Regions from separate parts of the Homo sapiens genome. Here regions 1, 2, 4 and 5 are each linked to region 3. The links are contacts of gene promoters, found by promoter capture Hi-C in human tissues and cell types (Jung and others, 2019). All regions are on one chromosome and are shown on one strand. The core of a region is centred on a gene start or on the middle of the fragment in contact, and the rest is flanking DNA. Distances in the headings are between cores, read along the strand shown. Region 1 has its middle 9.4 kb from the start of LINC02324. Region 2 overlaps ZBTB25 (zinc finger and BTB domain containing 25). Region 3 holds the start of RAB15 (RAB15, member RAS oncogene family). Region 4 holds the start of HSPA2-AS1 (HSPA2 and ZBTB1 antisense RNA 1). Region 5 overlaps ZBTB1 (zinc finger and BTB domain containing 1).

Evidence for each region. The method cuts DNA at HindIII sites, captures the fragments that hold promoters and counts their contacts. A contact is called where the count stands out against the background at its distance.
Region 1: a fragment that was not itself captured here is called in contact with the fragment with the promoter of RAB15 in region 3 in 1 of the 25 tissues and cell types used here (spleen).
Region 2: a contact is called between a fragment that was not itself captured here and the fragment with the promoter of RAB15 in region 3, in 1 of the 25 tissues and cell types used here (dorsolateral prefrontal cortex).
Region 4: a contact is called between a fragment that was not itself captured here and the fragment with the promoter of RAB15 in region 3, in 1 of the 25 tissues and cell types used here (H1 embryonic stem cells).
Region 5: a fragment that was not itself captured here is called in contact with the fragment with the promoter of RAB15 in region 3 in 2 of the 25 tissues and cell types used here (dorsolateral prefrontal cortex and hippocampus).

What each region holds. Positions count from the first base shown.
Region 1 is chr14:65,230,185-65,233,291 of GRCh38, forward strand. No RefSeq gene overlaps it. Among named protein-coding and RNA genes, the nearest start is that of LINC02324, 9.4 kb to the left of the region's middle. The HindIII fragment of the contact is 3,277 bases long and covers 1-3,107 here.
Region 2 is chr14:64,488,065-64,491,279 of GRCh38, forward strand. It overlaps ZBTB25 (zinc finger and BTB domain containing 25), which reads right to left. Exons shown (of 3, transcript NM_006977.5): 2 at 2,297-2,476. The coding sequence starts at 2,469. Among named protein-coding and RNA genes, the nearest start is that of ZBTB25, 14 kb to the right of the region's middle. The HindIII fragment of the contact is 3,901 bases long and covers 1-3,215 here.
Region 3 is chr14:64,970,811-64,973,859 of GRCh38, forward strand. RAB15 (RAB15, member RAS oncogene family) reads right to left here and starts at 1,526. Exons shown (of 7, transcript NM_001308154.2): 1 at 1,143-1,526. The coding sequence starts at 1,266. All of the region lies in intron 3 of CHURC1-FNTB (CHURC1-FNTB readthrough), which reads left to right. RefSeq lists a silencer at 1,319-1,688. The HindIII fragment of the contact is 7,421 bases long and covers 1-3,049 here.
Region 4 is chr14:64,537,896-64,540,861 of GRCh38, forward strand. HSPA2-AS1 (HSPA2 and ZBTB1 antisense RNA 1) reads right to left here and starts at 2,473. Exons shown (of 4, transcript NR_110550.1): 1 at 2,422-2,473. HSPA2 (heat shock protein family A (Hsp70) member 2) reads left to right here and starts at 2,846. Exons shown (of 1, transcript NM_021979.4): 1 at 2,846-2,966. The coding sequence starts at 2,955. RefSeq lists a silencer at 2,621-2,710 and an enhancer at 2,881-2,966. The HindIII fragment of the contact is 3,230 bases long and covers 1-2,870 here.
Region 5 is chr14:64,517,167-64,520,024 of GRCh38, forward strand. The region is part of intron 1 of ZBTB1 (zinc finger and BTB domain containing 1); the gene reads left to right. It overlaps HSPA2-AS1 (HSPA2 and ZBTB1 antisense RNA 1), which reads right to left. Exons shown (of 4, transcript NR_110550.1): 3 at 1,191-1,372. Among named protein-coding and RNA genes, the nearest start is that of ZBTB1, 14 kb to the left of the region's middle. The HindIII fragment of the contact is 5,320 bases long and covers 1-2,858 here.

The DNA of each region.
Region 1 (3,107 bases), core at 240-2,739, 260 kb after region 3:
GCTGCTTGCCAGAGTATGCTAATGTCTCCATCGTTTCTGGTCTGGATTCTGAGGAGCGGGTTTTTGTTTTTTGTTTTAAAGGGGAAGTAGAGTTGGGGGGCAGGCAGCTGTAAGATTCCCGGTAGCAGGAAGGCTGTCCTCTCCTCTGCCGTTAGACTGCATGATGGGGAGCAATGCCCAGGAACCCACGCTGATGCCCCGCGGAAACCGGCAGTCACTCCTCTTTCTCTTGGCTACTTGACTTACGCTCTTCTGGGAGTCTTAGCTTTATCGGAAACTTCTGGAAAAGCTTCTGAGAGAGAAATGTTTTTCTGGACTGCTCTCATTTGCTTGGAGAACAAGGAAACTCTTCAAATAACGTTTTGTTTGGGGACAGGAGGGAAGGGAGGGAGTCAGAATTCAATAGGCCTGTTCTTCTGTTGAGTGGGGGCAGAACTTGGCTGTCATCCAGGTGAGCTCCGTATCAACCATCAGTTACACCCCTGGCCTCTATTATTTGTACTAAGGCACAATGAAATGTCATTGAGTGGGAGGAGTACACAACTATAGGGCATAATTCTTTTTCTTATTATAAAAATAGCATACTTCTGATTCAAGCAACAGAGTCAGAAAAATAAGTACATTTAAAACATTAAAAAATTTTTAAGGTATTGCATGTTTATTTTAAAAATTGAAACTCATACACTGTATACATGTATCAAAATATCACAGTTTCCCATAAATATGTACAATTATTATGTGTCAATTAGAAATAATGATAAAAGCCTGTAATCCTAGCACTTTGGAAGGTGGAGGTGGGCGGATCACTTGAGGTCAGGAGTTCAAGACCAGCCTGGCAAACATGTATAAACCCTGTCTCTACCAAAAATACAAAAATTAGCCGGGCGTGGTGGCAGGCGCCTGTAATTCCAGCTACTGGAGAGGCTGAGGCAGGAGAATTGCTTGAACCTGGGAGGTGGGGGTTGCAGTGAGCTGAGATTGCGCCACTGCACTCCAGCCTGGGTGACACAGCGAGACTCCTTCTCAAAAAATAAAAAATAAAAAAATTATAATAATGATAAAAGCCAAAAAAAAAATTGAAAACTCCAAGAAGAGCAAAAAGAAACCCAAAAGTTCATTCCACAGAGATAATCACTGTTAATATTTTGGTGTATCTTCTTCAACCTTTTAAAATAATGCTAATTTATATCTGCAAGAAACAGGGTGTTTGATTTAAAAGAATACAATGGTGCCCTGTGATTGTTTGGCTGCATCTAGGAGATAATGTGTCCTTTAGCATTGGGGATTAGGATTAACTTTCTCAAATCCTCAGAGGGTCAGTTTTATGAGGCTAAGATAAAGCAAGGCTCCTAGTCCAGCGGGCTCCAGTAGTGTCTAAAATCCAGGACCTTTGGTTTTAAGCACTTATTTCACTTATGTGCATGAAAAGAAGGAGGAAGTTCAGGTGAAGCTGCCCAGGAGTAGAGAAAGACTGCATGTGAATTCATGTGATCAGAAAGCAAACAGGCAGATACTGAACCAGCCGTCCCATGGTAAACATCTAGAAAACTAGACAAAGTACATGAAACGACTGTGTTCACACATCTCAGATATTTCCTGAGAGAAGTGAAACAAATGAGGCGATCCCTACATTGCCGCAGCTTTTTGCCTAGAAGCACATTCCAGACTACTACCTGGAGACGGGAAGCCAAGCAGAACACAGAAGTCTTGCTGAGTTGAGGAGACAGAGACCCAAGGTGGTTGGAATTTGCCAGGCAGATTACCAGGGAGGAGAGAACTGCACAAAGACCTCTAGACACTTGACAAAAGTACTTGTCTAAAGTATTTGGTTGAATACTAGGCTACACATGCCCATGGTAAGGCTCCATGAGTCTGGATAAATAGCAACAATGGGAAATAACAAATACTGGTGAGCTATAAACTGAGCGCTTCCAGAAGCCTATACGTAGTTGGAAGTTTTTTGAGCTCTAGCCAGCTAGCCAGCTAGAATAAATTATTTATTTATAATAATAAACTATTTATTATTAAATATAATAAACTATTGTAGCCAGCTAAAATAAATAGTTCAGTGGGGTCTCACTGAACACCTGGGACATTTAGTAGAGACCCCAGAAAACCTAGGCCTTAGGAGTAAGACTTAACTAGCTCTAGAGAGAAGGTTTCTCTAGGCCTGCTCTCACAAAGCTTGAAAACAAGCCCCAAAAGGATCATGATGATCATTAAGAAACTTAAACTACCTCACTAAAATAAAAAGGACAGTCTCTCAACACCATAACCCTTATAATGTTCAGCATCCACTAAAAAGTTTTTTTTTTTTAGGCGGAGTCTTGCTCTGTCACCCAGGCTGGAGTGCAGTGGCGTGATCTCTGCTCACTGCAAGCTCCGCCTCCCGGGTTCATGCCATTCTCCTGTCTCAGCCTCCCTAGCAGCTGGGACTACGGGCGCCCACCACCATGCCCGGCTAATTTTTTGTATTTTTAGTAGAGACGGGGTTTCACCGTGTTAGCCAGGATAGTCTCAATCTCCTGACCTCGTGATCCTCCTGCCTCAGCCTCCTAAAGTGCTGGAGTTACAGGCATGAGCCACCACACCGGGCCTAAAAAGTTTCTTTAAAATTTTTTTTTGGGCCGGGCATGGTGGCTCATGCCTGTAATCCCAGCACTTTGGGAGGCCGAGGCGGGTGGGTCACCTGAGGTCAGGAGTTCGAGACTAGCCTTGGCCAACATGGTGAAACCCCATCTCTACTAAAAATACAAAAATTAGTCCGGCATGGTGGCACATGCCTGTAATCTCAGCTACTCAGGAGGCTGAGGCAGGAGAATCGCTTGAACCTAGGAGGTGGAGGTTGCCGTGAGCCAAGATGGTGCCATTGCACTCCAGCCTGGGTGACAAGAGTGAAACTTCGTTTTAAAAAAATTTTTAATTTTTCATTTTTGGGGTTACATAGTTGTGTATATATTTATGCGGTACATGAGATACTTTGATACAAGCATGGAATGCATAATAATCCCATCATGGAAAATGGCATATCCTTCTCCTCAAGCATTTATCCTTTGTGTTACAAGCAATCTAATTACATTCTTTTAGTTATTTTAGAATGTATAATT
Region 2 (3,215 bases), core at 520-3,019, 480 kb before region 3:
AAACAAAAACAGACCCACAAGAAATGAAACACAACCTAGCTGGCCTTTCAGTTAACAGTATAGTCTGAGACTAAAGCAATTTCTTCCTAAGAAGTTCGAACCTAGCAATCTGCCTTAATAAAACATGGCAACAAAGGCTTAAACTTTCATTTTATACCAACTTTATGGCCTAGCAAAAAGTCTTCATGTATTCAATCTACTGCCTAAAGTTAGGAAACACAGACATACATTCTGAATAGTTCAACATTAATCAAGTGACTCCTAAGTGATATGCACTATACTAGATGCCAGCGGTAGAAAACTGATGAATAAAATAGGTACCTGCTCTTAAGGAATTTAACAGTCTATCAAGTAAACGATCAAAAGAACTAAAAACAGGGACTCAAACAGATACCTGTATGCCAATGTTCACTGCAACATTACTTACAGTAGCCAAAAGGTAGAAAGAAGCTGAGTGTTCACCAAAAGATGAGTGGATAAACACAAGATGGCTTACACACACAATGGAATATTATTCAACCATAAAAAGAAGGAAGTTCTGATACATGCTACAACATGGAGAACCCAGAAAATATCATGCTAAGTAAAATAAGCCAGACACAAAAGGACAAGTATTATATAAAATATCTAGAATAGGCAAATTCATAGAGATAGAAAGTAAATTAGCGGTTTCTGGGGGTTGAGAGGGTGAGATGGGGAGTTATTGCTTAATGGGTACAAAGTTTCTGTTTGGGGTGATAAAAAAGTTTTGGAAATAGACAGTGGTAATGGTTGTACAACATTGCGAATGTGATTATCACCACTGCATTGTATAATTAAAAATGGTTAAAATGGCAAATTTTATATGTTTATAGCCACAATAAAGATATCTTAAAACTTCTGAAAGAACCTATTGAAATCAGCAGGGTGCGGTGGCTCACGCCTGTAATTCCAGCACTTTGGGAGGCCGAGGCAGGTGGATCATCTGAGGTCAGGAGTTCAAGAGGAGCCTAACCAACATGGTGAAACCCTGTCTCTACTAAAATTACAAAAAATTAGCCGGGTGTGGTGGCGCACACCTGTGGTCCTAGCTACTAGGGAGACTGAAGCAAGAGAATTGCTTGAACCTGGGAGGCGGAGGTTGCAGTGAGCTGAGATCATGCCACTGCACTTCAGCCTGGGCACCACTGCACTCCAGCCTGGGTGACAGAGCTAGACTCCGTCTCAAAAAAAATAAAAATAAAAAATAAAAAAAACAAAAGTGTTATATGAAACAAAAATTAACAGCTTAGTGACTAAAAGCATAGACATAGCTTCAGACAAATCTGCATCTAACTTATTAGCTGTATAATCCTGCATGGGCATGTTACTTAACTCAGTCTCAGTTTTCTTTTTCCTGAAATAGGGACAGCAGTAGAATTTACATTATAGGGCAAATACTTAGTGCTTGGGTATGGGATAAGCCTTCAATAAATTTTAGCTATTCTTTCCTTTTTCTTTTTTTTTTTTTGAGACAGAGTCTCGCTCTGTCACCCAGGCTGGAATGCAGTGGCGCGATCTCGGCTCACTGCAACCTTCACCTCATAGGTACACGCAATTCTCCTCCCTCAGCCTCCCGAGTAGCTGGGACTACAGGCGCCCACCACCATGCCTGGCTAATTTTTGTATTTTTAGTAGAGACGGGGTTTCACCATATTGGCCAGGCTGGTCTCGAACTCCTGACCTTGTGATCCGCCCACCTTGGCCTCCCAAAGTGCTGGGATTACAGGCGTGAGCCATGGCGCCCAGCCAATTTTAGCTATTCTTATTTTCATTCTTATTTTCCATTATGGATCCTACACACTGAGTTTAATTACTAATGTATAAAAAATTATTATAATTTGGCCAGGCATGGTGGCTCATGCCTGTAATCCCAGCACTTTGGGAGGCTGAGGCAGGCGGATCACCTGAGGTCAGGAGTTTGAGATCAGCCTGGCCAACATGGTGAAACCCTGCCTCTACTAAAAATACAAAAATTAACCGGGCGTGGTGGCAGGCGCCTGTAATCCCAGGTACTCGGGAGGCTGAGGCAGGAGAATCGCTTGTACCTGGGAGGCAGAGGTTGCAGTGAGCCGACACTGAACCATTGCACTCCAGCCTGGGTGACAGAGCAAGACTCTGTCGCCAAAAAAAAAAAAAAAAAAAAAAAAAAAAAAAAAAAATTATAATTTTACTTCTTAGTGTGACTCCGTAACAAAGAATTTCCAAAATGATACTATAATAAAGCTTATATAAATCACAATATTAAAAATTCTTATTTACAAAAACACATCCTTACCTTGTTTGGTGAATAAATATCATCTTGAAATAGTTAGAAAAAGCAGCAAGCACTGCTCTGTGGGCTTTGAAGTAAACATCTCCAATTGCAACTGTGCAATCACACAGAAAACCAAATTCTCGCTGCATGTTCAGCTGCTGGAGAAGAACAAGGCTATGGCTGGCAGTGTCCATTGTGGTTCTGAAAAAAAGGACAAGATAAATGTAGATAGGTGTGTATGTATATACGCATTATTTTTTATTAATACAAAATTGTCTACAGTTCACACAAACCTACAGAGTAACAAGGAGATCTAAATTTAAATGAAATTATTCAAGTTTTCAATCCTATTACTTTCACTGCAAACACGGCTAACACTAAATTCCTCCATTATGACAACTGATATAAACTCTGCTGAACCATAAAATATGACCCTTTTTCATCTGGTAAGAAGATAGCTTGGTATGAGTGACACATGAAGACAGACCTGTCCTTTTCCATCTATGTGAACACAATGTTTCTAATCTTGTTTCCTCATTAGAAAAATGAAAATGAGATACTGATTCCTGCCTCAGAGTTAAATAACTTATGTGAAAATCATGTTGTAATGGAAACTGCTATTCGATGTTAGCTATAAATGTTAATAACATAACACGGTATCCTGGCTGAGCTAGAGATGTCACTCCTCCTCAGGGATCCTCTGGTGCTCAGGGGATACTGGCTTCCCAACTCTCATCAAATGTTTGGGGGACTTATCATCACAGTAGCTCAGGAACTCTTAAAATAGATGTCAAGCCACATCCCCAATTTACTTGTGGCCCAAGAGCCTCCTGAGAAAGAACTTAAGCTGGCGCAGTGGCTCATGCCTGTAATCCCAGCACCTTGGGAGGATGAGGCAGGAGGGTTGCTTGAGCCCAGGTATTGGAGACCAACCTGAGCA
Region 3 (3,049 bases), core at 276-2,775:
TGGCTTCTTAACCAGAAGGTTCTGTTCCTCCTGGCTGTATCTATCTGCTCCTACTTCTCTCTCAGCAAGGAATGTGTGTTGGGGGGAGGGGGGATGGTGTGGACATGAATCCTCAAGAGGAAGCTGAGAGCTGGTGCCCATCCCTGATGGCAGCAGGGACTTCTAGGAGAGCATTCCAAATGGATGACCAGCCAGCCAGCAGGTGTTTCCAGGGGCCTGGGCAATGCAGAGGCTACTCCAGGGCTGACCCGGGTAGCAGCTGAGGATGAAATTCCCTCTACTCAGACTTCTCAGGGAGGGGGCCCCTCACAGCCTAGAAGCGGGAGACTGACTGTCTCAGAGGGGAGGCCATGGACCCATTCCTAGAATAAGTGACCCCATCATAGTGCTGTCTGGGATGCCACCGGGTCTTGTCCCTCTAACCACAGGCTCCAGCACTGCCAGATGAGAGATGCCCTCAGGCGGGTCCTGCCTGCCTTCTGACCCCTTGGTCTGGGCAGGTATTCCTGACACTCCTCCATCCTCTTTAGCCTCCCTCAGAACAGATGTCTCCTCTTCCCAGGCGCAGGGGCTCCTCACCCTATCTGTGTCCTCCCCCAGGTGTCCCACCTTGCGGCTTACCTTCCCAACTCTGCCCTGGAAACTCGATCCCTGTGGCCCCTCCGTACGTCCTCTCTTCCCCCCCTCGCCCCCCGCCGGCTCCACCTTGGGTCACCACAGAACCAAGGGCGCCTCAGTGACTCCGGTCTCCACCCTGACCCCCTTTTCCGTAGCAGAAGCTTTACTTCCCCTCCCCCTGGGGGTGTGGGGATGTTATTCCAGCGGCTACGATTCTTGCTACCCCAGCTCGGGGTACCCAGGCCTACACCAGCTCCCCTCACCCCCGGTTTCTCGGTTTGATGGGACGGAAGGCTTCCCGGCAAGAGGCGGGAGACCCCACCCCTGGTCCGGACGGCAGGCAGCAGGGACACCCTCACCTGCCAAAACCTATGCTCACCCCGAGATTTATCCCGGACTCCGGCCTCCGGCGCCACCGCCTCCAGCCGGAGGGGCTGGCAATTCCTCCCCAGCTGGGGACGGGGGCGGCGGGGAAAGGGGCCGCGGGCGGGGAGGGAGGGGCGCCCCGGGCCACCGCCCCTTACCGATGGTGGAGATGTGCGAGGAGTGGAACTCGTTGTCGGTGAAGCGGCACAGCAGGCAGGTCTTGCCCACCCCGGAGTCCCCGATCAGCAGCAGCCGGAACAGCACATCGTACTGCTTCGCCATGACTGGGGCCAGCGGGGCCGGGAACTGCGGGCGGGCAGCGGGCTCAGCCCTGCTCCGCCGCTGCCATCGCGGCCCGCGCCCGCCCGGGGACGCTGCGGGCGGCGAGGAGGACGCCGGGCCCGGCCCCCGCGGCTGCCTCGCCCGCCCGCCTGCCCACTCGCTCGCTGGGTGCCGGGAAGCGCGGCTGCGGCGGGAGCCCGGCGCGGCGCCCGCTCGGCTCGGCTCGGCTCGGCTGGGCTGGCGCGAGGCGGTGGGAGGAGAAACCGGCGGCGGCCCCTGCCCGCCCCTTCCCCTGCGCCGCCGCCGCCGCCCCGGAGAGAGGGGGCGGGGAGCGCGCGCAGGAGAGCGGGACCCCATCGAGCAGGCGACGCTGGGGCGGGGCGCCAGCCCCCCCTCCCAACCCCTTCCTGCCCGGGGCGGGGGAACGTTTTCGTTTTTCCGCGGACGCTCCGAATGGGGGAGTTGAGGTGAGCCCCCACCCAGCCCACTTCTACCGTGCTCCGCTTTCCGGGCTCACCACTTCTCCCCATATCCCACCCCAAGTCTGGCGCCGGTAATTCCGCCCGCCGTGGCACCCTGCATCTGCAGGATCTGGCCGGGCTCCCCAGTGGCTGGTACCTCAGCTGGGCTCACCCGAGGTAGGAAGGCCTTGAGCAGGATCTGGATTCGAACACCCGTCTCCATGAGTCCCCGAGAGTGTGGGTGGAATTCCCCCTCCCTGCCATCTGGCTGCCCCTTACCTGTGTGACTGTGTCACGGCCCTCCCCCGTCCCCATTTTTTCTTTAAATGGGGAAAATGCCTATTCACGGCCTCCACCAGGGTGAAAAGATAGATGGCCATAAGAACATCTCCAAGTGCAAAATCCTTTAGAGGTGTGCGGGCAAGTCTCCGTTTTCCCTCTAAGGTGCTTAGGATAGGTGCCCAGGTGACCAATGTATTGTTTCAGACCCCTAAATTTCTCTGTGGTATAGCCAGTGGCACCAAAGAATGAATGGCCCTTGTTCAAGATCCAGTTTCCTACCACTGAATGTGTTAGCACCGGAGAGAGGCAAATGAATGCTCTCCGGAGTTGAGAAAATTGCCTATCCCTACCAACGAGTATTGAGGGAGAGCAAAGTCTAGCCTATTAGGTCTTTAAAAAGCAATGAAAGGCTAGGCGCGTTGGCTCATGCCTGTAATCCCAGTACTTTGGGAGGCTGAGGCGGGCAGATCACTTTGAGGTCAGGAGCTGGAGACCAGCCTGGCCAATGTAGTGAAACCCAGTCTCTACTAAAAATAAAAAAAAATTAGCTGGGCACGGTGGCTCGCCTGTAATCCCAGGCTTGAGAGGCTGAGGTGGGAGGATTGCTTGAACCCATTAGGGGAAGGCTGCAGTGAGCCGAGATCATGACACTGCACTCCAGCCTGCGCAACAGAGGGAGACCTTGTCTCAAAAAAAAAAAAAAAAAAGCAATGAAAAGTATATATGTACATACCTGTTTTCAGGCTGAATATTGGATGGAGAATGTATTTTTCAATAGTAGGTCAAGGAAAGTGGTAAGCCCATTTACTTCATTTGAAAAGGTATATTTCAGGTTAAGTGTCTGAATTATAATAAGAGGGGAAAAGTTCAAGACCAGCCTGGCCAACATGGTGAAACCCCATCTCTACTAAAAATATAAAAAAATTAGCTGGGCGTGGTGGCCGGTGCCTGTAATCCCAGCTACTCGGGAGGCTGAGGCAGGAGAATTGCTTGAACCTGAGAGGCGAAGGTTGCGGTGAGCCGAGATTGCGCCATTGCAC
Region 4 (2,966 bases), core at 6-2,505, 430 kb before region 3:
TTTGTATTTTTAGTAGAGACAGGGTTTCACCATCTTGGCCAGGCTGGTCTTGAACTTCTGACCTCGTGATCCACGCGCCTCGGCCTCCCAAAGTGCTGGGATTACAGGCATGAGCCACCGCGTCCAGCCTTTCTAATATTTTCTTTAAAACGTCCCCTTTTTCAAAATTTTTTCAAATTCATGGAAAAGAGGATAGGAATTATGGTTAAAATTAGTACTAACTGATGACATTAACCGATTAATAACCAATTATGTTCTTAAAAACTGGAAATGATATACACCACTAGATAAAATAATCTTAAATGTTCATTGACTTTATAGAATTCTCTCAACATTACTTTTTGGTCACAGATAACTTCTGGGTTGACAAAAGCTTTTCTCCAGCGCCATTTCATACAGCTTTTACATGGCTGCACATCACTAGCCTGCTTTAAAGGACGGTGCTCCCAGCCCAAAGCCTCAGGAAAAAGACCATGGCTCAAAAAGCTCTGAGATGTATCCTATCCACCTGAAGAGCCTATTGCTTGCCTGTATCCCTCCCTTCTAGTGACACTAATCTTCTGTACAGAAATCCTAGTCCAGCAAACATTGCTCTCATCTTCGCCCATACACAACCTATGTAAAGAATGGCTTTCCTACTCTTTGCTGGCGAACTTCAGCTCCCGGATTAGGCATGCCACCTCTTCCAGGTAGCTCTCAGCAACGCACTTTTCCATCAGCCTGGGTGTGCCCCTCTGTGTTCCCATGGCGCTTTGCTTTCAGCGCTTCTCCCAAATTATGTTTACCTGTTTATTAGACTCTCCACCTCTGAAGACCAGGCCATTTCATTTGGCTTTTTACTGCCACGTAGTAGGTACCTGTTCAAGCTTGATGGAAGGACTTCCCCAGCCTCCCCACACATATTATGTAAAGTGATCGCTGTCTTTGCTTCCTCCTGGAGACCATTTATTTTATTTTTTTGAGACGGAGTCTCGTTCTGTCGCCCAGGCTGGAGTGCAGTGTCGCAATCTCGACTGACTGCAACCTCTGCCTCTCGAGTAGCTGGGACTACAGGCGCGCGCCACCACGCCCGGCTAATTTTTGTATTTTTAGTAGAGACGGGGTTTCACCATGTTGGCCAGGCTGGCCTCGAACTTCTGACAGCAAGTGATCCACCTACCGCGGCCTTTCAAAGTGCTGAAACTACAGGCATGAGCCTCCACACCCGTCCAGGAGCCCATTTATATGGGAGCCTGCTTCTAAAGATTATTACCTGGTGCCAGGGTATTTTCCAGACCTGTCCTCACATTCCTGTTAAACAGGAGGAAGTGAATCGCGCTCCTTTTCATCTACCTTCTCGGAGGGTTTATGCCTCCAATATTAACCTCAGCACAGCCAAAGAAAATCATTCCATTCCATTGAGCGGAGTCAGAAACATGACTAGGTCACGATCACAACCCCGTGTGTGCCAGGGTGACCGAGACTGGGTGACTTTATGGTGTTTCAACGTGTGGGTTTTGACTGATTATATTATGGGTTTTCCAGTCAAAAACTCAAAGCAGTGGATAAAGCACTTGCGACCTAAAATAAGCAATGGAATGAACAGGAAGGCGAAACCAGAGTTTAAAGCGGCAGGACAAACAGGAAAAAGGAAGAGTGAGGCAGGAAGGGTTTAAATGCAGGCTCCTCGGAGGACAAGTCGCCGCCACACCCCTGTCTGCCGTCCCGCCAGCCGCCCTCACGCGGCGCGGGAAAACGGTCGGCCTCGCCCTGGGCTCAGGTTCTCTCCGCCCGCCAGGCAGTGGGGTTTTTTTTTGTTTTTTTTGAGACGGAGTCTCGCTCAGTCGCCCAGGCTGGAGTGTAGTGGCGTGATCTCGGCTCACTGCAACCTCCACCTCCCGGGTTCAAGCGATTCTCCTGCCTCAGCCTCCCGAGTAGCTGAGACTACAGGCACGCGCCACCACGCCCAGCTAATTTTTGTATCTTTAGTAGAGACGGGCTTTCACCATGTTGGCCAGGATGGTCTCGATGTCTTAACGTCGTGATCCGGCCGCCTCGGCCTCCCAAGTGCTGGGATTACAGGCGTTAGCCACTGCGCCCGGCCCCAGCCAGGCAGTTTTAATCGAGCGCTCACAACCACTGAGACGCAGTGAAGCACCCACCATAAAATCCCAGGAGGCCGACCGCCGGTTCAGACTTTTTCTTTTCTTTAATCCCCGTCCAAGGGATCCGCCCTCACCCCCCACCCCAGCCACCCCAATTCCCTATTCCCTCCCCTTGGACGGCGCCGGGGAAAACAAGCTGCTCGAGCTTTATTTCTTCGGTGCAACCAACTCAGAATGAATTCCTCCGCCCCTGCGTGCTCAGTGAGTCGGCACCCTAGCAGTGAACTGCATTTAAAACCTCAGGAATTGAGCGAACTCTCCCAGTGGCTCTCCTCACCGGGATCCCCTTCCACGCCTCCTCCCCGTGCCGCGCCTCAGTCCGCACTGCTCATTGGCCGCGTGCCCTGCCAATCCGATGCACGTCGGCTAGGGCAAAGACCGCGAAAAAGCGCGTACACCTGGCTCTGGGAGCGCGCGCCTAACGCCAGCCAGCAGCAGGAGGCGCGCGAGGCACCACGGCCTGGCGGCCGAGAGTCAGGGAGGAACCTCATTTACATAACGGCCGCCCCTCTGTCTCCTGGCGGGGGCCGGAGTCCCGCCCCTCGTCCAACTTGAAATCTGTTGGGTCACGGGCCAGTCACTCCGACCTAGGCAAGCCTGTGGTGGAGCTGGAAGAGTTTGTGAGGGCGGTCCCGGGAGCGGATTGGGTCTGGGAGTTCCCAGAGGCGGCTATAAGAACCGGGAACTGGGCGCGGGGAGCTGAGTTGCTGGTAGTGCCCGTGGTGCTTGGTTCGAGGTGGCCGTTAGTTGACTCCGCGGAGTTCATCTCCCTGGTTTTCCCGTCCTAACGTCGCTCGCCTTTCAGTCAGGATGTCTGCCCGT
Region 5 (2,858 bases), core at 359-2,858, 450 kb before region 3:
TTACATGCCAAGCACGATGCATTTTACACATTGCCTCTGTGAATCCTCATATATGATACTGTATTTGAGGTATTATCCCTACCTTTTCAGTTCAGGAAACTTAGGGTCAATGAGGATAAGCAAGTTCCCAAAAGTGGCAAAGCTAGATAAGAAGCCAGGTCTGTCTGATCCTAGGCCCATGCTCTTTTCACTTATTATACTGTCCTCAATAGCATTCTGTTCCTGCTTTAATATGGGTACTCATTCTCCAAACAAGTTTGTTTCATTCTTGAATTACTCTTATTAATAGAAAGTTTGGTTTTTTAGAAATAATACCTATCCCTCTGCCTCTTACTCTATAGTTTATTATTTATTAAATGTCTCTCTGAATCCTAGAAAAATGACTATAGACATAGAAATTTCATCCTACTTAAAACGGGCTTGGGTCAACATTTTTGTGTATTTTTTTCATCTTTTTTCCCCCCACCTTTTGAATAAGGTTGTGGCGTGGATTTGTTTTATATAATTCTAACATAATTATGTATCCTGTGTTTATTTATTTGGCTCTCCATCTTGAACATTTTTCCCACTTCTGTAGTTGCCATTTAGAAATATATATATATATATATATATATATTTTTTTTTTTTTTTTTTTTTTGAGACAGTCTTGCTCTGTCAGCCAGGCTGGAGTACAGTGGCATGATCTCGACTCACTGCAACCTCCCTCAGCCAGGCTGGAGTACAGTGGCATGATCTCGGCTCACTGCAACCTCCCTCTCCCAGGCGCAAGCAATTCTCTTGCCTCAGCCTCCCGAGTAGCTGGGTTTACAGGCATGTGCCACCACGCCCGGCTAATTTTTATATATTTTTTAGTAGAGATGGGGTTTCACCATGTTGGCCAGGCTGATCTTGAACTCCTGACCTCAGGTAATCCGCCCACCTTGGCCTCCCAAAGTGCTGGGATTACAGGCATGAGCCACTGCGCCTGGCCCAGAAATACAATTTTTAATTCACTGCCACATGACAGTGAATTCTGGGGCGTAGATTTACCTTAAGACTCCTTTTTTTACTAGGCATTCAAATGAGAAGTAACTCATTAATGACTATCTTTGTGCATACATTGCTTTTTGTATTTAGATACATACTGAACATGATTCCTCACAGCTTTTTACAGATACCTGAGTTACAGAGGTTTGAAATATTGTACTTACTTGAAACTTGATCTGGCTTCCAGAAAAGGTGCAGTGGTTGCAATTTTAAGAAGGCAGCAGGTTTCATCATAAGCCATCTTCATTTCACCAGTCCTGTATCTCTGGCTATGGAACTTTATGTCTTAGAGGTGGCAGGATGGGCATATAGGTAGTAAAAGGGGCGTATGACCCATATGTGATCGCTGAGGAATGGATAAAAAGCAAATAGAAGTACGTAAACGTAGATACCCTTAATTACTACTACAGAGCTTGAAGAGTGAACATTTTATTTCTCTAAACAGCTTGTTACATGTTCTTTTTAAGTTCAGTCAAATTGCATAGGAACTTATTTTTAAGTAGAAGATAGATTCTGAAGCTTTATGTATACGGATTAAAAATTGAGGCTAAAATTTGATCTTATTTTAACTTTATAATATGATAGGATTTCTAGTGCTTTTAATACTTCCTCTCCTTTCTTCCTTATCCAAAGTCAGCTCCCTACACTAAAAATACTTAAATGCCCACTAATATTGTCTAATGTTAAATGAAGAAAACTAGTTGCAGAGAGGTATATATATATATATATATATATATATATATAGTATGATACCATTTAGGTTAAAAAACACAACAAAAGCAAAACTATGTGCCTGGCATCTCATAGGTACTCAATATGCTAACTATGTACATGTGCATCTCAACAAATCTGAAGGTATATAATCCAGAGTGTTTGGAGGGGTTACCTCTGAAAAGAGGTGTGTGATCTGAGGTGTGTTTTTATTCTATATGCCTCTATGTTTGAATTTTTTGCTACTTTTTTTTTTTTTTTTGAGATGGAGTCTCGTTCTTGTCACCCAGGCTGGAGTGTAGTGGCACAATCTCTGCTCCCTGCAACCTCCGCCTTCTGGGTTCAAGCGATTCTCCCGCCTCAGCCTCCCGAGTAGCTGGGATTACAGGCGCCCGCTATCACGACTGGCTAACTTTTTTTATTTTTAGTAGAGACAGGTTTTCACCGTGTTGGCCAGGCTGGTCTCGAACTCCTGACCTCAGCCTCACCCTTCCAAAGTGCTGGGATTACAGGCATGAGCCACCGCGCTCAGCCTTACTTTTTTCTTTTAACAATTAAAAAAAAAAAAAAATAGAAGAGGCCAGGTGCAGTGGCTCACACCCACAATCCCAGCACTTTGGAAGCCCGAGGCAGGAGGATCGCTTGAACTCAGGAGTTCAAGACCAGCCTGGACAACATAGCAAGACCTTGTCTTTACTAAAATATTAAAAAAAAAAAAACAAAAAAAAACTGAATGTGGTGGCATGTGCCTACAGTCCCAGCTACTCTGGATGCTGTGGCGGGAGGATTGCTTGAGCATGGGAGATTGAGGCTGCAGTTAGCTATGATCATGCCACTGCACTCCAGCCTAGGTAACAGAGCGAGACCCTGCCTCAAAAAAAAAAAAAGGAAGAAAACTTTACACTCTAAGGATAAATAAAATACCTTCTCAAATAAACCCACTGCTTCTTTATACCCTGAAATGCATGTTGAGCAACATGAGACACATTCTAACTCTATAGAATTATTGCTTCTTTGATAATTCAAGAAAAGACAAAGGCACTGATCAAACTTGTTTGGTGCCATTTCTATATAATCTAATAAGGTTGTTGTTGTTGTTGTTGTTGTTGTTGTTTTGAAAC